7 separate regions of the Homo sapiens genome follow, and all the other regions are linked to region 1. Evidence: promoter capture Hi-C in 16 types of primary human blood cells and fetal thymus (Javierre and others, 2016). All regions are on one chromosome and are shown on one strand. The core of a region is centred on a gene start or on the middle of the fragment in contact, and the rest is flanking DNA. Distances in the headings are between cores, read along the strand shown.

The links. The method cuts DNA at HindIII sites, captures the fragments that hold promoters and counts their contacts. A CHiCAGO score of 5 or more calls a contact.
Region 2: a fragment that was not itself captured here is called in contact with the fragment with the promoter of TSPAN11 in region 1 in 1 of 17 cell types (total B cells); the score reaches 5.8 in total B cells.
Region 3: a fragment that was not itself captured here is called in contact with the fragment with the promoter of TSPAN11 in region 1 in 1 of 17 cell types (total B cells); the score reaches 5.8 in total B cells.
Region 4: a contact is called between a fragment that was not itself captured here and the fragment with the promoter of TSPAN11 in region 1, in 5 of 17 cell types (naive B cells, activated CD4 T cells, M1 macrophages and 2 more). The highest score is 7.1, in naive B cells.
Region 5: a fragment that was not itself captured here is called in contact with the fragment with the promoter of TSPAN11 in region 1 in 6 of 17 cell types (naive B cells, naive CD8 T cells, non-activated CD4 T cells and 3 more); the score reaches 6.5 in naive B cells.
Region 6: a fragment that was not itself captured here is called in contact with the fragment with the promoter of TSPAN11 in region 1 in 8 of 17 cell types (naive B cells, total B cells, total CD4 T cells and 5 more); the score reaches 11.0 in naive B cells.
Region 7: a fragment that was not itself captured here is called in contact with the fragment with the promoter of TSPAN11 in region 1 in 3 of 17 cell types (naive CD8 T cells, non-activated CD4 T cells and erythroblasts); the score reaches 6.5 in naive CD8 T cells.

The regions. Positions count from the first base shown.
Region 1 is chr12:30,924,885-30,928,339 of GRCh38, reverse strand. TSPAN11 (tetraspanin 11) reads right to left here and starts at 1,592. Exons shown (of 8, transcript NM_001370302.1): 1 at 1,544-1,592. LOC124902911 (a long non-coding RNA gene) reads left to right here and starts at 1,651. Exons shown (of 2, transcript XR_007063264.1): 1 at 1,651-3,455. The HindIII fragment of the contact is 3,619 bases long and covers 1-3,455 here.
Region 2 is chr12:29,463,692-29,467,146 of GRCh38, reverse strand. It overlaps OVCH1 (ovochymase 1), which reads left to right. Exons shown (of 26, transcript NM_001353179.2): 17 at 1,928-2,000; 18 at 2,445-2,640. The region is part of intron 1 of OVCH1-AS1 (OVCH1 antisense RNA 1); the gene reads right to left. Among named protein-coding and RNA genes, the nearest start is that of OVCH1, 32 kb to the left of the region's middle. The HindIII fragment of the contact is 876 bases long and covers 1,356-2,231 here.
Region 3 is chr12:29,480,736-29,484,190 of GRCh38, reverse strand. The region is part of intron 9 of OVCH1 (ovochymase 1); the gene reads left to right. All of the region lies in intron 1 of OVCH1-AS1 (OVCH1 antisense RNA 1), which reads right to left. Among named protein-coding and RNA genes, the nearest start is that of OVCH1, 15 kb to the left of the region's middle. The HindIII fragment of the contact is 1,684 bases long and covers 858-2,541 here.
Region 4 is chr12:29,499,358-29,502,812 of GRCh38, reverse strand. It overlaps TMTC1 (transmembrane O-mannosyltransferase targeting cadherins 1), which reads left to right. Exons shown (of 18, transcript NM_001193451.2): 18 at 1-1,973. Among named protein-coding and RNA genes, the nearest start is that of OVCH1, 3.4 kb to the right of the region's middle. The HindIII fragment of the contact is 1,829 bases long and covers 746-2,574 here.
Region 5 is chr12:29,524,554-29,528,008 of GRCh38, reverse strand. The region is part of intron 11 of TMTC1 (transmembrane O-mannosyltransferase targeting cadherins 1); the gene reads left to right. The region is part of intron 2 of LOC105369714 (a long non-coding RNA gene); the gene reads right to left. Among named protein-coding and RNA genes, the nearest start is that of OVCH1, 29 kb to the right of the region's middle. The HindIII fragment of the contact is 266 bases long and covers 1,752-2,017 here.
Region 6 is chr12:29,544,598-29,548,052 of GRCh38, reverse strand. The region is part of intron 10 of TMTC1 (transmembrane O-mannosyltransferase targeting cadherins 1); the gene reads left to right. The region is part of intron 5 of LOC105369714 (a long non-coding RNA gene); the gene reads right to left. Among named protein-coding and RNA genes, the nearest start is that of OVCH1, 49 kb to the right of the region's middle. The HindIII fragment of the contact is 1,374 bases long and covers 831-2,204 here.
Region 7 is chr12:29,564,148-29,567,602 of GRCh38, reverse strand. All of the region lies in intron 9 of TMTC1 (transmembrane O-mannosyltransferase targeting cadherins 1), which reads left to right. Among named protein-coding and RNA genes, the nearest start is that of OVCH1, 68 kb to the right of the region's middle. The HindIII fragment of the contact is 6,262 bases long and covers 1-3,455 here.

The DNA.
Region 1 (3,455 bases), core at 343-2,842:
TACAAACTGTGAAGGGTGCTCCTTACTGCTTCATTTGGCGGCATAAAAAGAAAAGCAAGTTGGTGGTTATAAATGTCCTGGGCTCATCTGAAGAAAGGCTCTCTGGAAAGTCAAGGTGCTCTAGGCAGACTTAAAGACATCAACGCCAGTTTTCCTCTTGTTCTGCAGCACTCACACAAGAACTATGGGGAATCACACAGGCCTGTACATATTTTACACACGAGTCCAAAGGTGGGTATAAAATTCCTGCTATGCTGAATATAGTGGGAAACAGCACACAAATGCCTCCCTCTGCTACCCACAAACCAAACAGCTCTGGGCCACCTAAGCCCTCGCCAGACCACCAACTTGGCCCCTGTAGGCCAGTAGTGCCCCTTACCCTAGGAGTCTTAACTATCATCAAAGCATTTCCAGGCATTAATTGGAGCCTCCAGTCCCTTGGGAGACAGATGGGGCCAGTGGTTATTAGTCCCATTTTGCACAAAAAGCAACTGAGCCCCAGATGACCTATCTGTCCAGGGAACAATGCTACTGACACAGTGACAACCATTAAGTTCTGATTCAAACCTGTCTCCAGCCTCTAACTGCTGCTTTCCACTGCAATCCAGCTGCCCACAAATTGAACACAGACTATCCACTTTGGCCTAATACCACCCTCATTCTCTTCTTCACGCTCCCCCACACACACCCTATGCCCCAGAGTGCACTTATGAGTTTTTCCAGAAGCTGCCTCTTCTCCTCACCCCCCACCCCCACGCTCACCTCACAATACTTGCCACGAACTGGAGACCTCTGGAACACTTATTCCTCCTGCACACAGCAGCTTAGACTCAAGTTAAGATGCTGTCCCGCCAAGCCCAACTGGGCTGCCTCCCTTTCATACTTTCCACCAATTCACACATGTGCACACTGCACATATGGCTGGTGAAAAGGATACACCCCAGAACCTTCCATGCCTTCTTTCCACACGGAGCCGGCCAACTGCACATGCAGGGATGGGCACGAAAACACAGGTGACAGGGCCTACACAGCCATGTTGTCACAAATACACAGACGTGCCCAGAACATGAGGACATCCCTGCACAGGCAGACAGGCCCTCTGAAAGCAATGTGCACCAGATACAGCATTTTGGTGTAGCCATGAGAGGCAGCTACTCGAATTCAGGGTGGACAAAGAATGACATTTTCAAGAGGAACAGACATGCCCCGGGCACGCTGGACGGCACGAGGCCCTCAGAGGCCCAGAGCTCTCTCCCAAGGCACAAGTGCAGAAAGGCAGACTCATGCGCATAGTTATGGACACCGTGTTGCGTGTCCCATGCAGACACCAATACCTGCTCACATGCCCCGCGAGTGTCCCAGGCATTCCTGCCTCCTCCACTCCTCATCCCCAGCCGGCTTCCCTCTGCCCGCCCGGGGGAAGCTCGGGACAGTCTAGCTCGGGACTGCCGGCGGGGCGGGCAGCGGAGGTGGAGGCGCCTCTCCTGGACCCCCAGCCCCCTCCCGCGGCGCCCCCACTCCTCGGGCGCGCTTCTGCACTTACCCTGCCAGGGGCTCCGGAAGCGGCGAAGGGAGCTGCGCCTAGAGAGACTGAGAGCGGCGGCTCCCGGGGCCGCCCAGCCGCCCACCGCCCGCAGCCAGCGCTCCTCCCTCCCAGCCCGGGAAGGTCAGCGTGTGGGCAGCCCGGCCCGCGCCCCTGCGCCCACTGAGGCTTCCTGCCGGCCCTCTAGTCCCCGCCTGCCCAGCGCTCGGCCGCGACGCCCCGGCGCCGGCTCTCCCAGCCCAGCCGGCAGGACGCGCCCGGGAGCCCCGCACGCGAGCTGCCGGCTCTTTGTTTGGGGGTTTGCCTCTCTGCGATTCAGAGCACGCGGAGGGAATTAAGTCAGAGTCCGAGGCAGCTGTGCGGTTGCCGGGGGGATCCCTAAGGGGGGCGGGGCAAAAGGACGGACTAGTAGGGCGGTGGAGCGGCTTTCAAACTCCCCGCGCTCCGCAGCTCCCCGCTTAGGTCTCCCTGCCCTTTACGTTTGTCGGCCCCTGGGAGAGGTTGGCCTTTGGGGGTTTCCAGGGACCCTAGGGACAAGCCTGTCTGATAAGAGAGAGGTTCTCCATCCCCCTTCCTCACCAGCCCCCATCACTGCCGTGTCCCTCTTAGAGTCCTGTGGAGCATCAGCTTTACATTTCCTGGGCCCCGGGGAGAATCAAGGTCTCTCTAATCTGAAGCAAAAAGGAATAACAGAGAGTAGAGCCCATCTGTTCCTGCTGAGTCCCTGTGAAGGTGCAAAGCTGGCCCTAACGGGACTGGCCCTAACAGTGGGGCATGGATTATCTATTTCCCAAAGTAACAAGGGCCTTGTGCTTATCCAACCGTGTTCTTTTGAAACTTAGCTGCAGTGAGGAAGATTACCCATTTACCAGGTTGCTAGATCAGGGAAGCCACTGGAGGCAGGGGACGCTGACAAAGCCACTGTACCGGGAGCACCAACGTTCTAAATACCCCAGCTGGCTGCTGAGAAGGGCTTCGCGGGGGGCCACACAGGAAGGAGATGATTCCAATAGTCCCGTGAGATGAGGACCTTAACTGGGGGATGAATGCGGAAGCTGCAGCAAAGGAGAGTCTACAGACTGTGTGGTGTAGGAGGAGCACACTGGGGCTGTAACATTGTGGAAGTCTGGAGGAGAACCTGGAGTGATGTGACTGAGTTTAGTGTGGAGCAAGTTGGATTGGAGAAGCAGGCCACCTTCTTCCAGGGGCAGATATCCAGCAAATGCAATTGGAAGGGTGATTCTGGAGTTCATAGGAGAGACTGAGGCAAGGGATGTCAATTTTGGAATCATCTGGAAAGAAGTTGGGCCGACACAAGAGGTGGAGGGAGAGGGTAGAAAAGGTACAGAGAACAGGGCTGAAGACAGAATCTAGGTCTACCGAGAAGGAGCCCATGAAAGGAACGGAAACTATCAGGAGAAACCATAAGGGAAGGTCAGGACTGTGCGGGGTGTCAGGACTCAGGAGAAGAGGGAGGTTCAATGGGGGCCGGGGCCCGGGCTGCAGGGACACCACGGAGGAGGGCGCCCAAGAAAATAGGTTTAGATTTAGAAAGAAGGAGATCTCTGGGCTAGTTCAAGATAACTATTTGAGTGGTGGCTTATATAAACCAGGTTGCCACTCCTTGGGGCGGGGCATCTGTATCTCGGATCCAATTGGTTGATGGGGAGATACAAAGGTTCACCTCTTTGCTTCCATTACGGAGGGCCCTGAAGGGCCACCCCAGCTCCATAGCTTCCCAAGGGATCCGCCGAGGCCTCTGTGGAAAGCAGCACAGTTAAAGTTCATTCTCTGCCGAATCCTGTTTCCCTCACTCTCTCAAGGTGTTGTTCCCAAGAGCACGTCCCAGGAGACCTCCCACATACCATCTCCATCTCTGTGCAGAGTCTGTTTCCTAGAAATCCAACCGGAG
Region 2 (3,455 bases), core at 544-3,043, 1.5 Mb after region 1:
GGCAGATAATAAGAATGATAATGGCTACCATTATGGAGTCATTATCATCTACCAGGTACTTGCCAAGTGCTTCACTTGAGTTAGCTCCGTTAATAAAGGCATATTGAAACACATGAGTAAGTCAAACCCATTATGCAAGGAATTGAAATGAGCATGGTTATGACTGTGGAGAAAATGCCTACATGCATTAAGAATCTTCACCTTTAAATAAGGTATATTGAAAAATAATTTGAGTAACTTTACTTTTCCTGAAGAAACAGTGTTTAAAGAAATGGAAGAATTAAATGGAAGAATTAGTCTCCAAGTAGAAGTGACAGTGTATTGGTTCCAGTAGAGGGACTCTTTCCTCAGACACTTTTTCAGCTGGAGATCTTGATACGAGAAATTAATGGATATTGATTCAAACTTCTTAACATCATTTTGAGGTGTATCAGAAGTAGGCAGAACTTTTCACAAAATGAACACCCATGTAACCAACACCCAGATCAAGAAACAAAATACTGCATTACTAGTACCCAGCAGCCGCCCTTGTGCCTCTTCCAGTCATCACTCCCCTAAAAGTAATCAGCATTCTGATTTCTAACGCAATAGTTGAGTTTTGCCAATTTTTAAACTGATAAATTCCTTTGAACTTTAGTTTCATAACTCTGATTTAACAAAAGATGACGATCTGAGATATGACCCAGTGAGATCATAATTCGGCAATGTTGAACAGTAAAATATAGACCAGAAGCTACCTTGTCACAGATATAATTTTTTAAACATATTCTTTTTTTCTTGCAAAGATTTTTATTATTTATTAAACAAATTTAAGATATTGATAAATACAGTACTGAGATAAATACAGTATTAAGAGAAACGTATTTTCTCTTCCTTATGATTTTTTTGTATATATTTTTTATTATACTTTAAGTTCTAGGGTACATGTGCACAACGTGCAGGTTTGTTACATATGCATACATGTGCCATGTTGGTGTGCTGCACCCATTAACTTATCATTTACATTAGGTATATCTCCTAATGCTATCCCTCCCCCCTCCCCCCACCCCACAACAGTCCCCGGTGTGTGATCTTCCCCTTCCTGTGTCTAGGTGTTCTCATTATTCAATTCCCACCTACGAGTGAGAACATGCGGTGTCTGGTTTTTTGCCCTTGCGATAGTTTGCTGAGAATGTTGGTTTCCAGCTTCATCCGTGTCCCTACAAAGGACATGAACTCATCCTTTTTTATGGCTGTGTAGTATTCCATGGTGTATGTGTGCCACATTTTCTTAATCCAGTCTATCATTGATGGATGTTTGGGTTGGTTCCAAGTCTTTTTTAAACATATTCTTAACATCACTGTGAAATTAAGCTTTAATTATTTTCATTTTTCCTCCTCGACCTAAAAAAAGCCTTTGGTGATATTTGGCAAGGTTTCCAATGATACTTTATGGTCAAAAGAAAGGGGCAGGATACATGATCAAGAGCTCCTTTTCACATAGATCAGAAGGCATGATGTGGCTTCCCTGGGAGGGAGATCGCAGAGGCAATGGGACAGGGGACTGTTGCCTCGCTGAACTGAGCAGTGCATGTTAGTAGAGCCAGATGATGGTAGGGTGGTTTCCCTCCCTACCTGTTCACCTGATAGTGAGTTCTTGCAAGATCTGATGGTTCAAAAGTGTGTGGCTTCCTTTGCTCTCTCTCTTCTGCTTTGCTGTGATAAGATGTGCTTGCTTCCCCTTTGCCTTCAGCCATGATTGTAAGTTTCCTGAGGCCTCCCCAGCCATGCAGAATTGTAAGTCAATTAAACCTCTTCTTCATAAACCTCTTTTCCTCAGAACGTCTTCAGAAAGACTTTATAGTCTCAGAGTCCTTTATAGCAGTGTGAGAACAAACTAATACAAATGTGTTTTCATGTCAAACTTTCACTGTTCTTCTGTCTCCAGGAAGAATAATCCACTCTCCTGGACTATTATTGCTGGGGACCATGACAGAAACCTGAAGGAATCAACAGAGCAGGTGAAAAAATGTTTTTACAGGTCATTCTGCCTGTAATCTAAATGTTGTCACATGCCAAGGAATACCTTTAGCTAAAATATGTAATTAGTTATTAATCTCCTAGGGCCCTTTCACACTTATTATTTATACCCACATTTAAAAATGCAATTTGAGATTACATTTTCACTTGAGAATTGCAGGAAGTAGGTCAGAATTGCAAATTTAGGCCCATGGACACAGGTTTTCAAAGCTTTATTTCTCCAGCACCACCTTTATCCAGAAGGTGGTTCATAGCCCCCTGCAAATTGTAAACCAATATTGCTCTTTTAAATTTAATAGAAAGTCTTCTGCATTGTTTATGTATGTAAGTGCAGAAATTTAGGATTATTTTGGACCATCAACAAGGAAGTTGCTGGATTCTTTGACTTTCTTACGTTGTAATTTGCTTACTTGCCACCGATACAGGTGAGAAGGGCCAAACACATAATAGTGCATGAAGACTTTAACACACTAAGTTATGACTCTGACATTGCCCTAATACAACTAAGCTCTCCTCTGGAGTACAACTCGGTGGTGAGGCCAGTATGTCTCCCACACAGCGCAGAGCCTCTATTTTCCTCGGAGATCTGTGCTGTGACCGGATGGGGAAGCATCAGTGCAGGTAAGCATATTTTTGTTGCATAAACATTAATGCCAGTTGTTATTTTTGAAAATAGGTCATGTAAATGATATCAAGCAGCATCCGCTTCAGCCCCTCTTCTTTCTAAAAGATAGAAACCATGTTTTATTTAGCTGTAACAGATCAGCAAGTAAATAGAGAATGAGCTATTTAAAACTTTTCCTTCAGGGTAACTTAGATTATAAGTAGGCTAGATGAGCAGTCAACAAACCTTTACTGTAATGGGCCAGATAATAATCCTTTTAGGCTTTGCAGGTCATCTGGTCTCTATCACAACTATTTAAGTCTACTGTTATAGCATAAAGCAGCCATTGGCATTATGTAACAGAATGGGTTCCAACAGAACTTAATTTATAAAATTTAAATTTCATTTAATGTGCACGTGTCATGAAATATCATTCTTTGGATTTTCTTCAACCACCTAAAAATGTACAAACCATTCTTATTTAATGGCTTGTGCCCGTGTTTGGGGGTGGCACAGAATTTATCCACTGGCTGTCATGTGCTCACCCCTGGCTATGGTATAGAACTCTTAAAGGCTTAGTAAAACAGTGAAAGATCTGAATGGGTTGATATTTGTTTTGTGCTTCTTATACCATACAAGATCATTTTCTTTGTATATTTCCTTTCTATATGTCATTTATTTGGAATCTGTGAGCTTGAAGGAGGAGGGAATTTATATTTGACTGCTTACAGTGTTGATATTGACAGCTTACTGTGCTACCTGAAGCCAAATTGCACTTTCGTAAAAATCTTCACACCCAACACATGAGGAGCTTTTATCATCCCCATTTTAC
Region 3 (3,455 bases), core at 450-2,949, 1.4 Mb after region 1:
CATACCCTGTCCTCTGAAATATATCTAAATGTAGCTAAAAATATCTTTAAGCTTTAGAAAATCTTTCTGCAAGTATCTCATTTTCTTAAGTGATCTAAATTCATTTTTAAAATCGTACTGAGACTTGAATAGTGTACTACAAAGATAACAGTTCTACAAGTTTATAATCTGGTAGAAAGAGCTAGACAAAAATAACTATACTACAAGAGGAAATAAGCTTTATAATCCATACCATCCAAGAAAGTGCACACTATAAAAGATAGAGACTAATTCTCTTTGGTGTGGTTTTTAAGGTATGTGTGGAGTGGTTAGAAGTGTGGGGAGAGATATAAATGTTATAGTGGAAAAGATGGCATTGAAATGAGGCGTTGAAGGATAGTTATGATTTTATAGCTCATGAGGTCTTTGGTAGCTCTAATACTGAAGATTTCAACAGATGGAGAGGCAGGAAGAGGTCATTCTATGCCAAGGGAATTAGATATAAGCAATGTCAAGGAGGTGGGGAAGATTGGGGTTTTTTGGGTTTTGAGTATCCCACTGTGACTGGACAACAATGTGAATGGGAACTGGGGTAGCAGTGGATGATGAGAATAGAAAGGATGATCGGGACTTAATTGCAGAGGACCTTGAGTTCCATGCAGAGAGATTAGACCTTATGCTACAACCAATGGGTATGCTAAAACTAAAATGATGGAAAGATTATAACTTTCAAAACTAATGTAAAATGAATATAAATATTTATTTCAAGTACAGATAGAAAAGATGTGGCTTAATTTCAGCTCATAATTTAAAACGCTTAATGGTCTAAACTGACTTTGTCTCAGGCAAACTTGTGATGATAGAATGCCAATAAAGCTTTTGCCACCTTTGCTTAAGCTGTTAGAAGGATATTTAGAACAAGAGTTTAAGAAACTCCTTTATTAGAGTCTCAGGGACCTCTAGGACCTCTAGGGTACAATGTTTAGACAGGGAGATTGATAAGCCAGAATTTGTCTGAAGGAAAATGACCAAGATGGGAAAAATTCAGAACAATGTTTTGAGAGGTATGGTTATAGGAACCATAATATTTTTTGATCCAAAGAAGACTGAAGAGGAGGAGGGAAGTGTCTTGATTTATCTTAGAGGCTACTAAAGAAACAGAGTTAGACTTGTTCTGAATAATTGCAGAGCTGAAAACTAAGACCACTGGGTAGAAGTTAGAAGGCAGAGTTCAATTCAATATTAAGTCATTTCTTGTTTGAATGATTTCTGAAATTAACTAGCCTGCTTCAGGAAGTAATCAATGCTCTTGATAAGTGGATATTTGAGCAAAGTATTTGTATATTGGGTAAGAGACATGCAGATGGCAGCCTACTTACCCTCAAACACAGTGACCCAACTTAGACAGTTAAGCATTTCAGAGATCTCTGCAAGAAAAAGTTTCAAGAGAAGAAGGGTTATTTTAGAAGTAAAAATCAGATCAAATGCCATCGCATATAGAAACTCAAACTTCTTGAACTGAGCAGAACTGTAGGATCAGAAGCCACATTCATAGTGGGTTAAGTGACTGTTGAAAATTTAGTATCCCAAATAATCAACAAATTTCTATTGAACCCTCAGGATGTGTAAGACACTGTCTTAGGTGCTAGAGATACAGCAGTGAATGAAACACACAAAAATGTTTGCCTTTGTGGGGCAAGTTAGAAGGTGGAAATGGGATAATTTTTAAAGATTACATATAATAGTAGAAGGTAGTAAATGCTATATCAAAAAATAAGGCAAGAAAGGGGGGTGGAGAATGAAAGTATACAATATCAGAGAGGGTGGTTAGGGAAGACCACGTTATAAAGATGATACTTGAAAAAAAGGACTTGGATAAAGCAAGGGAGGGAATTATATGATCATTTTGGAAAGGAACATTAAGGCAGAAGGAATGGTATGTGTGAGACAAGAATACACTTGGTATATTTGGGGAATAGCAAATTGACCAGAGAGCCAGAGTTGAGTGGCTGGAGAGGGGCAATGTGGCCAAATTCTTTAGGACTTGCGGGGCATGAAAAGAACTTTGGATTTTACCGTAAAGGAGCTAGAGAGCCATTGGAGGATTTTGAATGAGGAAGATCATGATCTGACACATTTTTAAAAGATCACTTTTATTACTGGGTTGCAGATAGACTGTAGGCAGGCAAGACCACAAGCTGGGAGACCAACTACTGCAATAGTCCAGGTAAAAGATGATGCAGTCATCCAGGTAAAAGTCTAGCTTTGACCACATTTGTAGAGGTGGTGAAGAGTGGTAGGGCCGTAGGATTTGCTGATGAGTTGACAGTTTGGGTTTTGAGGGAGAATGAGATCCCCATATGAGTAACCTAACAGTTTTTAACCTGAGCTATTGGAAGAATAGAACTGTTGTCTGAGATGGAAACATTGGGGTGGTGGCTTTTAGACAGTAGGGTCAAGAGAGGCACTTTGTTTTGATAAAGTAGACTCAACTGTGCTTATGGACAGAGAGAGAGTGAGAGTCAACAGTCATAGGAAACACATAGAAATGTGAAGTAAGCTTTCTGAGAACACAACAAATAAAGAAGGTTTGGCATTGAAAAGAGGGCAGAATAATTCCTTTTCTGGGAAAGCAACAAAGAAGGTAATCTGTAGGAAAGTTGAAGGAATTTACACTGGATGTCTTAGTTATCACATGAGATTTTAATTGCTTCAACTTTAGTAGATGAAGTAGAGATAAAATAGTTAAGATATAAATAGTTTATAGGGACTAAAGTAAGGAGTCAACCAGAGATTAATAAGACTTTCAGTAGCAGTAAAACCCAATGAGTATTAGCATCTATTTGTACTATATTTCAATAAATCAAGACAAAAAAATTCATTGTAAAATACTGCTTCAATAGGAGAAAACAAAATTCCTAAGATAGGTTCATATAAGGCTGAGTCACCAAACACTGTCTTTAGCGTAAGGCTAAACAAAGTGTAAACCCACCCACATGGAAAGTTACATGCCTCAACCTTGGCAGTAGATGTAGGGAGAGGTAAAAAATTATTTGAGAATTTGAACTACAGGTTAATACTCGTGCAGATCTACCATCTAAATTCACACCTCAAGTATAGGCCAAAACATGTCAAGCAGAAAATTCGGCACTGTGAAGTTGACAGTGAGCAACATGACTGACAGAAGTGTATACAGATTCTGCCAGGAAGAACTCTTTCAATTCAGGTCTACAGAAATCGTAAGATTCCTTTGTAAGATGCATTCTAATTTTAGAATGTGCAAATGTGAAAAAATTGTGCTTTAGAAACGAGTATAGGGCCAATTTGCACAGTCAGTGACTTCTTCAGCATGCTGAGTAGCCTTAGATAGTGAAAGGGTTTTGTGAATTCCAACTGGAGCTAACTAGGAAATCATAAGGGAGACAGAGATAATATAAAGAAGGAGGAGAGAGTTACACAGTCCCTCCAAGCCTCTC
Region 4 (3,455 bases), core at 411-2,910, 1.4 Mb after region 1:
ATGTGCAGCTAGGCTGGAGAACCACTACAGGGCTGACACCTGGAATGGGAGCTTGTAACTTTTACAAAATAATAGATGTTTATCATCTTTTGCAATTTTTACTTTTAAGTCTATACTAAAATGAGCCAAAGAAGTCTTAACAATGATGTATGGCACAATTGGTTGGTTGAGGCTATCATTCCATGATTACAAATAGGTGGTTATGTGGGGTGGTTTTGCACTTGTGGCAATTGGACTGCAATTTGGCCTTAAAATGACACAATTCCTCGTTCTCAGATGGAGAGGAATTGCCTTGAAATTTGCATGTACCAGACTAAGTGCCAGTATATATATGACTGATATTTTCGTGACTCATAGAAGGTGTCCATGGTATAGAGTTTATGCCTACATCTCTATCTTTATTTTGGGCACACATGAGCTTTTGTTAATTATTTCTTTGTACTTGTTAGAATCTGTTTTTGAAAAAAAAAAAAACTTTTGCTTTGATTTGTGGTGGATTCACCTTCTTAAAATAATAAATTTAGAGGATATTAGGAATGACATTCAAAACAAATATAGTGAGAGGTGATTTTTTAAAAATTTTTGTTCCTGGTTTCCAAATTATGTTTACTTTGATTTGATTATATGTTGGTATCTCCCAAATATAGGTTAACTTAGCTATTTAAATGGTATCTTTTGACATTTAAAAAGAATTAAGTACCTGTCAAATCTAGCATTGAGGTTGCAGTTGAATAAGATAAAAGCTTAGGATGTCAAAAAATAATATAGAGAAATATTATAAGATTTTATGATTATTCTTGACGTTTTTGATGCAAAAGGAAAATATGCTGAATAGTTCTTCCAAAAAATATTATTTCCCTCAATATTTTATTTGTAGCCATGTAATTTAAAGAGAACAGAAAATAACTGCAATCAAAAGTATGGTTTAATATCAATCAAAGTGGCACAACAGAATTGATAAGATCTTTATAACAATCAATTGGCTGATATTAAAATATTGATTTTAATTGATCTTTTCAATTAAAATCTTTAGGGCCTGTAACTCATAAAATCAGCATCCACCACAATATATGGTCATTATTGGTTTGTAAGCATAGATCACCATTGACTCCTACCTGGAGAGACATGTCTATTTCTAAAAATCCAGTAGTTTCTTTGCATTCTCAGTAGTACACGTTGTATATATATATATGTAACAAATTTGGTAGTTTTCAGTATGTGTGATGTCCTTTGGGGGTTATTTATCTTGCTGGTCCATAGGAGGGGTACACTACCCCAAGAATCAAGACATCTGAGTTCTAGTTCTAGTTCTAGCTCTGCCACTGAAGAGCCACCTTACCTGGGGCAAGTTAGCCATTGTCTCCCAGTCATGTTTACCACCCATGAAAGGACTCGTCGGTTTGATGTTTCCATTAAGCTCAATGAGTAACTCTAATAGTTACTCTTGAATCTGGATTGAAAAACACCATGCATCTGATGAGATAATTCATAAATGTTGCCCCTTTTTTAAATGATACAACCCTAAAAGTGACTGAATTGCCCAAGTGCTTGAACATGGCAGAGGTAGTTACTCCTATTTTGCAGTTTGTGCACTTAAAAATTCCTACAGTGATTGTTACTTTACTGGGGAAAAAAGATGAGGTGAAACTTCCTCCCAAGGAATTAAAATATCTGTAGAAGCCATGGCTTGCTTTTATAATGTGGAAATCATTTGATTTGCTGTAATTCACGCAGATCCCTCCTTTTGTCAGGGGGAAATGATTTGCATCATGTTCTTTTTTCATAATGCTTTTACTTCCTGTTTGGATCAGTTGTATGTAAATGTACATTTTTGTTACTTTGGCTGTGCCCGTTAGAATTTATCTTCCATAAAGTATTTCTCCCATTGAGTCTAATGATGTATACTTTGCCTAGGTCTTTCCAAAATTAAATTTATGTAAATGTCTATTTTATATAAAATATGATTAAAATAAGTATGTCTGGTTTCAATCTCTCAAGTACTTCATGGTTAGTACCTACTGATGTCCATGTCACCAGGAGTGTCTGTTTTAACAATGTTTTAAAAAGGACCATCTTCCTTCCTTCATTCTTTCATTTACTCATTTCATTGCATTATTCTGTGTGCTTCCTGTCTGCTCTCTTTCCCTTCCTCCGCACAGTGCCAATTCAGTACTCACCCACTCCAGATCCGCTCCCCTATCATGCTTAGATGCTGTCACCTCTCTCTTCACAGAGTAAATAAAAGGTAGAAAGCAGCTGTCCCCCAATGCCCTGCACTTCATCTATACATTTACCTGCACCTAATTCTATCCTTTCTTTTCTCCTGTTATCGTAATGGAAGAAGAGGACCCTAGGTTCTGCATTTTGCCTCTTATGGAACTTCATTCCATGCCTTAACTTCTCCTTCATCTTTTTACTTCTTCCTTTTGCTGGCTCTTGTCAATTTGTCAGTTCTACTCTTCTTAAAGCACATACACAGGCAATCAACACCGAAACAATTTGAAAAAAAAAATCCTCTGTTTCATTTTATCTGTAGCTGCTATCACATCTCCGTCTGCCCTTCACAGCCAAGCTTTTCGAATAGCAGATCACAGTTGTCCTATACTAGTGAAGATGTCCAAATTAAAGACAGATTTGCTGTACATCACAAGTCACCACTGTCTGGGGGTAGTCCAGTCCACTCCTCTCCTTGGTATCCTTTCCTTTTCTGAAGTTATTTTAAACATAAAAAGAGGATTCTTCCATTTGGATGTTTTAATATAACTACAAACTCAATTTATATTGAAACCATTACTTTTTTAGAAAATTTGAGTCTAAAACTAAAACTAATGGCCTGGCTTTTTTTGTTTGTTTGTTTGTTTTTGAGATGGAGTCTCACTCTGTCACCCAGGCTGGAGTGCAGTGGTACGATATTGGCTCACTGCAACCTCCGCCTTCTAGTTCAAGCGATTCTCATGCCTCAGCCTCCCGAGTAGCTGGGATTACAGGCATGTGCCACCACACCCGGCTATTTTTTTTATTTCTAGTAGAGATGGGGTTTCACCATGTTGGCCGCCAGGCTGGTCTCGAACTCTTGACCTCAGGTGATCCGCCTGCCTCACCCTCCCAAAGTGCTGGGATTACAGGCGTGAGCCACTGCGCCTGGCCTATGGCCTGGCTATTAATGGTGTGTAATTCTTATTGAATGGCTCTTTTTCCACTTAATGGAAAGGCATTATTATGTGAGGCCTGTAAGGGACTAAACCTTTGTATATAAGAATAGGGTCTCAGTTGAAGCTGTGGGTTTTGAACTCTGGAAACAAAGGGAGTTGTTCTGTAACAGGAAATGAGACAGTGCCCCACCGCATGGAGATTCCCAGGTTTGAAACAAAGAAACCACAGAGTATGCTGCAAAGCTGTGTGCCATGGGCAGAAGAGTGAAAGGGGACAGCACCTGTGAGCCTCACGGAAGGGCT
Region 5 (3,455 bases), core at 635-3,134, 1.4 Mb after region 1:
GTGAAATGAATAGAAAGACAGATCTTAAAGACCTTTTCATAGAGCCTTGAAACTGCCATTGGGGTTACTGAAGGTGTAGGGCTGTGATTCATTGCCCTTGACACACTCAGTCTTTAGATCTCACTATTTCTTTGGATTTTGAAAATATCATTTCTAGTGGAAAATCAGCTCAGCTAATGGATGCAAAAATAAAAGAGAAGATTTAGATGAAAAAGATAATCTCTTTGCCTATTTTGGAGGAGCAAGAAAGTGGGAAAAAAAGTAATATTAGATCCAGTAAAGCAGTAATTGCTCTTAAAAACTGTGGTTAATAGTGGTGTAATTGACTTCAGAAGCTGAGACTGTGAGGACATCAATTGTGTTCCTTTCAGGAAAAACACCTTCTAACTTAACTAGCTTGGTTATAAAGATGTTTTTCAGATCTCACGTAGCCACAGATAGTTTTCAAGCACATCTGTGTTACACAGCCACTGAAGTAAATAGTGACCAATGCCCTTGGGCATTTGGATCATGACAGGTGTACAGTATCTATCCCCAGGTGTGGATGCCACTCTTGGCTGCCCCCCACATACCTTGTGCTTCTCCTCCCACAGCTACATTATTGCCTCCTTCTTGTCTGAATTCCACTCAGTGGTGAAGGTAGGGATTGTGTCTCTCACTCACTGTTCTGTTTCACTGTATACATGCATGGCACATGCATGGTGTTAAGTTTAACTTGACACAGCTTCTGTCTCATGTTGTCTTTCTCAGATCTTTTGATTGAAAAACAGAGCCTCTTCTCCCTCAAGGAATAAATGCTTTTTAAAACCTTTTAATTACCATTTTGGCTAAATGAATTACTATTATTCTACAGTGACCTGTGATCATATTTTAATTAAATGTTTTAAACCTTTGACATATTTGACAGGCTTCTTTCCTTAAATCAAATTTCAAGTTGGAAATGAAGTCTTTTTGACCTCAACTAACTTGAGACACTCTGCAGAGGCCTTCTGCAGCATCCAAAAGAGAGTTTATAGACTTATTTGACATGTTAAACTATGAGAAGCATTGTCAAATAAGTAATGTTTAGCCTTGAGTTATGTTTTTATGAATACATTATTAATATATGTTCCAAAATTATGAGATTCCTAAAATTCTGATATGTCTTGGTATGTTATCCATCATAATTATGGTTATTATATTAAATTATTATAGGCCACAGGAGAAAAAAAACAACTTTTTTGTCAATTACATCTTTAACCATGACCATAGTTAACTTTTCCATAGTTAATTGCTTAATTATGATACATTTTCTAAAAGCTCTTGATAAAGAAGTAAAATCCTAGAATGGCGTATCTTCAAGGAGGTTCACAGAAAGGATGAAAAGAACCCTGACAAGCACTCTTGAAAACAGGTTTCTGATAACTTAAAGATCACATTATTTGGATTAAGAATTCCCAAAACTCTAATGAAGAGACTGACTGGGTTATAAAACTTCTAACCCAAGCAAGACAAGAATTAATTGAATACCAAGAAAACACTTTGCCAGATTTTCATGCTAAATCAGCTCTCACTAAAATGTTTTAAGTATACAATTTAAATAAACTTCTATGGTCCAATTCAAATTACCTATGATGGCCCACCTAATAAACAGTGCTATACATCTGAATTGAAAAACAAAATTGGTTTTTGAGAGGATCTAAATTCAGTATTAAGCATATACTCATGGAGAGCCTAAATGGCCACCTGGTCCTTCCAAAGTCCTTCAAGCTTTCATTGTTAAAAGTTCTGTATGCCATCACTCATCATAGGAGGGATAAACTGATCCAGGTTACATTTTTAAAGTATTTATTGGTATGGTGACTATTCTAAATTGCTAAAATGGTTGACTAATATTTGGGTGGTCAAACTCATAATCCTGGGAAGACAATCAAAACTTCAGGTACATTTCTGCTACCTGATGGGCCATTTAAACATTTATAGAGAAATTTCATTCAACTGTCATTTTTAATGCGTATTTTCTGGTTATATGAAAGCTTTCTCATACAAAAATCTGATGGCTGTAATAGTAGCTAAAACATTATTAGAAAGTGTGTTTCCCTCATGGGACATTCCTAGAAAAATCTCTAGCAATAAAAGGCACTTGATTCACTGGACAAGTTGTAAAACAAATAAGGTATTTCAGATACAATAGCATTAGGCAAAGGTAACTGATTCAACTAGATTGTCTTATTCAAAAGTATTACAGTGGATACAGTGGATAATCAGATCCACTTCCAGGGGAAAACGTAAGTTGGCCTTTCTAAAATAGTCGGTAGAGGGCCCATATCCCTAATAACAAAACCTCATTTACTTTCTGGTCTGAAACTCTGATATGACTAAATGCTACAAGGCTTTAATACATCATGCCAAAGTATACTTTCGCTAGATTTAAAAAAAAAAAAAGGCTTTTCATGATCAGTGACTGTGGACAATCAAACCCTTCATGGTCTAAAACCCAGAGACTGGATATTCTGAAAATGATATCAGAAAAAGACTGCCCTTTGCTGAGCACAGTGGCTCACACCTGCAATCCCAGTATTTTGGGAAGCCAAGGCGGGTGGATCACCTGAGGTCAGGAGTTCGAGACCAGCCTGGCCAACATGGTGAAACCCTGTCTCTACTAAAAATACAAAAATTAGCCACTGGGTGTGGTGATGGGTGCCTGTAATCCCAGCTAATTGGGAGGCTGAGGCAGGAGAATCGCCTGAACCCAGGAGACGGAGGTTGCGGTGAGCTGAGATCCTGCCATTGCACTCCAGCCTGGGTGACAGAGCAAAACTCCATCTCAAAAAAAAAAAAAAAAAAAAAAAAAAAAAAAAAAAAAAAAAAGACTGCCCTTGCCACCCACACTACAGCAAAACTTTGGGACCTCAAAGCTTAGGTTCATAATCTCACAACTGAAAAGGGCCCTCCAGACTCTTTGACCTATACACCCATTTGAAACCTTAAGATAAAGCTAATCAGGAAAGTTTCTCCCCAAAACAAATGGCATCCTAGACATGGACAGCTTTCCCAAGATCACAGATCAAGACTTTTCTGCTATCATCAGACTCTTACCTCTCTTAATTTTTTCCTTGCTTATGCCTCTATAAACAATAAAACTAAAAAGGGAGATTTGTGTACATCATGAGGTATAACTTTATTTGTAGAGGACTTTGCAGCCAGCATTATACATTGACAGTCTTATGCCTGGGTAGAAAAGATTCAGGACCAATGTGAGCAAAAACATTTAATGGCATCTTTATTCTTCCATAATCAGTCAGAACCAGAACATTGGTTCATTCCTTTTAACCTACATCATAGGTTTAAAACAACACTGCCAGGGGCCTTCACTCTTCTAGTGAAGTTTAAACATGGAGTTTCTTTACACTCTTCTAGACATAATTCTTAGGCCCCTTTTCCCATAATTTAAAGGAGATAATGATTACAATTCA
Region 6 (3,455 bases), core at 268-2,767, 1.4 Mb after region 1:
TGGCAAGAAGAATGGTTAGCGCCTGGTGCTTCTCCTTTGCACCTGTTCACACAGCTGTCTAGTGCATTCACTGCTCTGCCAGCTTTTACTCCCTTAGTTTCTCTGCAGTGAAGAATATGACACTGTTGATCTCCTTCTGATTTTGAAGCTCTTTATTTCATTGCTTCTATCACAGTGCATTATTTTGCTCTTCCAAATCCAACATCTGCTCTTCTTCGACCCTTCCTATAAATTTAGGGACAGCTAAGAAATTCACTTCATATCCATTGCGTACACACATAGAGTCCAAATGTCTTAGCATTCAGGGCTTTCCATAATCCTGCCACTTTCCTCCTTATTCTTCACTCCTCTCCCATATTGTGTAAACCCAGACCCCAGCCAGATTGGCCATTTGTCAATGTATGAGAAATACTAACCTGCCAGGTTACATTTTAGAGACTGTGACTGAGGTTTTAAATAGAGAACTTTCCTAGTTCATTTAAAATGTGGTTTCATTTACATTTTTATCATTTCATGGTCAGTGGCTGTCCAAAATTAAGTTACTGGGAAATAACGAGAATGTCTATGTACTTACTCAAGATTTGGCAGTTGTTTGTATGTAAACAGATTGCTAATGATTAAACTATTTTTGTGAGTCCCTCTCCCCTACTGCAACTCCACTCATTTATACTGTGATTACTAATGAGTTGAGGTTGCGTTGTTTTAAATCCATCATGTGCTTTGCAAGGAATCTTCTCTCAATCTTTCCTTTTCCTTTTGTAATGACTGCAGTAAACACCGCGGAGACCTGAAGACAGAGCTGCCCAGGAAGTGCTGGGTGGGAGCAAGCTTTGAGGAATCCCCTGGTTTTTGTTTACATTCTCTTGAAGGAGTTGGAATGTCATCATTTTCCTTCATTGCATAAATATTTCTAACAGAGGATAATTAAACAGGCCAGACTGCTTTGTCAAGTGCAAGAGTTTCAGTAGTCTCCCTTGTCCTGAAAATCATTTTCCCACCCCATTCACCCTTTACAATCTTTCCCGGAATCCTTTGTTATCTTGTCCCCTTGAGCTCCTGTGCTGCCTGAAAGACTTGGGATGACTCAAGATATAGGTGAAAAAGGAATAATTTTTGGAATAACTCAAGGTGAAAGAGGAATTTTTTTTTTAAGAGAAAAGGACTCACTATGTTGCCCAGGCTGGAGTTCAGTGGCTATTCACAGGTGCGATCATAGCACACAACAGCTTCAAACTTCCAAACTCCTGGGCTGAAGCGATCCTCCTGCCTCAGCCTCCCGAGTAGCTGGGACTAGTCTGATTCAATTAAAAGAATAAGAGAAATGTGGATAATCATTGAAAATTTCTTTCTGCATACATTTGTCTTACTTTAGGGTACCAAGTGCCTGAACATTTTTTCTAAAGCCCAGTAGGAGATCAACTTTACCCAGACAATTAAATTTGGCATATAGGCTGTTAGACATAATCAAAAGGCTTTTAAATCTAAAAATGCTCTGTGTAGGCCAGGAAGAGAAATAGGAAGGACAGAAAGAGGAATATGCATGTTCCACCCCTGTCTGTGGCCTGCAGGGTCTGTCCCAGGAAGCATGAAATAAGGCCCCTTCCCTTCTTGGTGACTCCTTAGCAATTCTGCCAACCTCCCTCCCATTTGTACCCTCCTGATATAGGGCCCAGTTCCCTTAGTTTGGTGTTTTCATGCCTTGCCTCTTGTCTGCCGGCCAGCATAGCAGGGCTCTCTTCCCTCAGCTTTCTGGCCACCCTCCTCCTGCAAGTGACAGGGACAACAGTAACTGGCACTTAAATGGCACTCTGCTCAGCACTTCTCATGTCTCATGAGCCTGCCCACACCAGTTGTCTAGGACAAGCCCATCACTCTCCCATTACAGACTGAGAATCACGTGAGGAGAGAGCCCAGGGCCAGGAAACTGATGCCAGTGCTTTCTGCCACATCATGCTGCCTCACTACCACCTCCTGTGTGTTCTCCTCAAGACTAGCAGCTGGGAGAGCTTAGTGAGTTTGAGTCTCAGTTCTACTGCAAAATTACATGTGACCTTGGGAAAAGGATTTTACCTTGCAGTGCCTCCAACTGCTCGTGTATAAAGTGCAAATAATACTAGTAACTACATCTTTCATGAGTACTAAATACAATAATGCGTGTAAGTCCTCAACATAGGCCCTATTACCCAATGAAGATGAAATAAGCTTTAACTATTATTAATTATCATCAGCCCAGGGACATAATTTCTCACTTTCAATTTGAAACTCAGGTCCTTGGTATAAAATATGCAATGAATCAGAAGTAGATAATGCATTTTCTACCCCTGCAGTTGAACAGCTCGGGGAAATTTAAACTTTGCTGAGGCTTAGTTTCTATCCGTGTGTGTGTGTGTGTGTGTGTGTGTGTGTGTGTGTGTGTGTGTGTGACAGAGTCTTGCTCTGTTGCCCAGACTGGAGTGCAGTGGGCTGATCTCAGCTCACTGCAACCTCCAGGTTTTAGTGATTCTCCTGCCTCAGCCTCCTGAGTAGCTGGGACTACAGGCATGAGCCACTATGCTTGGCTAATTTTTGTATTTTTAATAGAGACAGGGTTTCACCATGTTAGCCAGGCTGGTCTCGAACTCCTGACCTCAAATGATCCGTCTTCCTCAGCCTCCCAAAATGCTGGGATTATAGGCGTGAGCCATTGTGCCCGGCCTCCATCTCTTTAAAACAAAGGGTGAGAACAAGTGATCTCATAGAATTATCCAGCTGCAAGAATCTGTGGTTTTAACTACAACTACAGGTTTCTGGTCTTTTAACTGAGAAGTAAAAGAAAAAGAAGACCAGAGAAGAACTTGAAAGTCCCTTTTCTCTCCAGAGGAAGTACTTGCATTGTAATAGCATCCTGCCTCTGCTGAAAAAAAAAAACCCATCTGTGAGGCTTCTGGTAGAAATTTGAGCTGGGAATCTTGCTGGAGAGGAGAAAGGAGCAAGTGGAGTTAGCATTTATTGCCTCCTACTATGTGCCAGACACTCGGCTAAGCATATCACTCATGTTCTTTTACTCCACTCTTACAGGAACCTAGAGAGGTAGAGATTATTTAATAATAAGCACATTTCTCTTTGGCCACTGGGGCTCCTAGAGATGAAGCATCTAACACATCATTCAACTGGTGAGGGCAGAGCTGAGATTTAGACCACCCCAAGCCTGAGCCTAAACCCAGGAACACGCATTAAACTGCATCATCAAAGCATCCTTTTAGCTATGGGGCAAATGAATCCTGACTAAATTAAGTTATTCTCAGCTGCCTTCCCTTTTAGGTCCCTACCTGGGAGCATTGTTTTACACTTTCCCTTAATCTTGAAAGGATTTAGCATATATATTTGCATACACTTTGAAGTGAAACTGGCTTGGGACTAGTTTATCCCAGCCCGCCCCCATGCGCAGAACCAGCCCTGCAGATGCAGAGGAAGGC
Region 7 (3,455 bases), core at 513-3,012, 1.4 Mb after region 1:
TGGAGATGTGTTCTTCAGCTGATGTGGTATTTTCATGTATAAAAGCTCAAATATGCTTTCTAATATCACAAGTAGACACGAAATTATTTTTGTTGCTTCTTGTTGATGAAATTACATTCTCAGTATATATATGCTGTGTTAATTAAATCTGGCAGTTTTATTCATGAGCTCAGGAAATTAAACATTATTTCATTTAGAAAAAAAAAACGAATTTAAGTCACATTGTGGCCATACTTATGAGCTGAATTTCAAAATGAAATCTCCATAATGTATTTTCAGAAAAGTTTCACTTTTTCTGGCTATCTTAGACCACTTTTTCATTTTAAAAACTCTCTTATGCATGGTTCCCCAGAAAACAGAATCCAAGGCAAAGATTTGCAAGCAGGAAGTTTATTAAGGAGCACCCTCGGGAACACCAGGGCAGCAGAAGAAAGGAGATGTTGAGTAGAATGCAGTTCCAGCTGAGGCCTCAGCTGATCCCATGGGGAGCTCTGGAACTGGGATGTCCCCTTAGAGGTGTCATGAATGGAGGCAAGAGATTTACTTTTAAACCCCGCTTTCAACCAATCGCTGCATCCAGGACGGGAGTCTAGCCTTGGGGAGGCAACTCCCTGAGGCTGAGAGCAATTCCCAGAGAGGAGGTGGACTCTGAGCTGCCAGCAGCCAACACTCCTAGCAGCCGGGAGAATATGCACTTCAGCCTTGAAGGGGAACTTTACACCAGCTGTGATTTCTTGTATAAGTAAATATGGCAGGTTTAGCAAAATAGGGTTGAGATTTTCTGTTAAAAATGAGAATAGGGATGCTGCCTACCTCATAGGGTTGGAGGATTACAAGATAATTCATATAAAAGACTTAAAGCAATATCCGTAAGCAATGAGGGCAATGACACGCTCAGTAAATATGACTAACACACACAGAATCTGACCACCTCCCTCCACGTCCACTGTCCCCTCCACCTCTCAGCTAGACCGCAGCAATATGCTCCTAACTGGTGTTGTGGTTTTCACCTTTGCCCTGCTTTCCTTCAGTCTGTTCTCAATACAGCAGCCCCAGGGATCTTCAGTGGGGTGGCCCAGCACTTGTGGAGGTCGAGATGGGTGGATTACATGAGGTCAGGAGTTCAAGACCAGCCCCGCTGGAGCCCCACTCACAGCAATCTGGAGCTCAGAAGGCTCCAGCCACCCCACCTCACTTACGGGGAAAGTGGGCGGCCCTGCAGCAGCCTCCATGCTCGCCCTGCACCACCTGCCCCCTTACTCCCCCTGACACACCTCCTGCTATTCTTCTTGCTTACTTGGCTCCAGACACACTGGGCTGCAGGCACGTGCATGCCAGCCACATCACCTTCCTGTTTCAGGGGTTCTGCGTTCTGTTCTTTCCTCCTAGAACCCTTCCCCCCTTACCTCAATGGCTGCCTCCCTCACACCCTTCAGCACTCCTCATATGTGTCATCGGCTTCTCCATGAGGCCTCCCTGGGCCACCCCACTGAAGACCACAAGCACCACCAGCATCCCCTGTTCCCCCTCTTTGCTTCATTTTTCTCCATTTATCACCCTCCGCTCTACTCACCTATCGTTTTGTTAATTGTGTGTCCCTCCTCTACCCAGTAAACTGCATGAAAGCAGAAATCTTTGTCCTTATCCCCAGCATGAAGGAGAGTGCCAGGAACATGGCACTGAGTAAATATTTGTTGAATGGAACAATGCTACATGTAAACTTCTTTATACTGTGGTTTTTTGTGTTTGTTTTTTGAGACGGAGTCTCACTCCTGTTGCCCAAGCTGGAGTGCGGTGGTGCGATCTCCACTCACTGTGGCCTCTGCCTTCTGGGTACAAGAGATTCTCTTGCCTCAGCCTCCCAAGTAACTGGGATTACAGGCACCTGCCACCACACCTGGCTAATTTTGGAATTTTTAGTAGAGGCGGGGTTTCACCATGTTGGCCAGGCTGGTCTTGAACTCCTGACCTCATGTGATCCACCCATCTTGACCTCCCAAAGTGCTGGGGTTACAGGCGTGAGCCACTCCACCTGGCCTTATACTGTGTTTTTAAAGTATGTGAATTACCTGGAATGTTTTAAAAGGTAACTGAGGTATAATGTAAAACCTAAATGTCGTCAATAGCAGAAGATCCTAAATTACGTCTATCTTTTCCTCTTCCTGAGTGCTAGATTGGCAAGGGGTAGACTTGCGATGGATAATTTCATGTCAGCTTGGATGGGCCATGATACCTAGATATTTGGTAAAACATTATTCTAGATGTTCCTACAAAGGTGCCTCTTGGATGAGATTAACATTTAAATCAGTAGACTTTGAGTAAAGCAGATTATCCTCCAGAATGTGGGTAGGCCTCATCCATCCCGTTGAAGGACTTAACAGAAAAAGACAGACTTCCCTGGAAGGAGAGAAAATCCTACCCACAGACTGCCTTCTGGATTCTAACTGCAGCTCCTCCCTGGGTCCCCAGCCTGCCGCCTACCCTGCAGATTTTGGACTTGCCAGCCCCCACAATCATGAGAGCCAGTTCCTTAGGATAAATGTCTCCCTAAATGTAAATATACACATCCTGTTGCTTCTGTTTCTCTGGAGAACCCTGATTAATTCAGATTTTCCTCTTTTACTACCCTGCTCATTTTTCACGCCTAAGGCTGATCTCTTCTTTTCTGCTCAAGGTTCCATAATTTCCAGTTTCTCAGAGCTTATTTATAATCCTCTGTTTAAATCCTTTGCTTCCTCCCCTTCACCTGGCACTTTCCCATTAATATTTAAATATTCTCTAGTTGCTCCTACCATCAAACAAACAAACAAACAACCGAGCCTGTCTGTATCTCTTGTTTTCCTCCTCCTGCCATTCATCTGTGTGCTTCCTTATCTCCTTCCTACCTTTTAAGTGTCAAAATTTCCCAGAAAGTTGCAATGTCTTCCTTATTTTCTCTCATTACTCAACTACATTCTGGCATCAGCTCCCTCCCCACATGTGAAACTGCTCTCCCCAAGTCACCAGCTACCTCCATGCAGATAATTCCAATGGACCATGCTTGGGCATCAAATTACCTAACTCTCAGCAGCATTTGACTTTGTTGACCACTTCCTCCTCCTTAAAGTAATTCTTTTTTAGCATCTGTGACACCATGCTCTCTTGCTTTTTCTGCTCCTTCTTTAGATTGTCCTGCCTCCACCAACCCTTAATGGAAGAGTTCTCAGGACCCTCTCCTCCTTCCCTACATCTTGTTCTCTTCTCAATCTTTGCTTTTTAAGGGGTTCCTTCAGTCCCAAAGGCTTGTTAGCATCTGTGTATATGCTGGTTGACCCTCAAATCTATGACTCTACCATTATCTTTCCCCTGATGATCAGAGCCATCTACCCAGCTGGACATTTTCACAAATTGCCCTCTGCACCTCAAACTTGACTGGTCATCTTCTCCCCAAAACTTGCTCCTTGTCCTTTATTTTC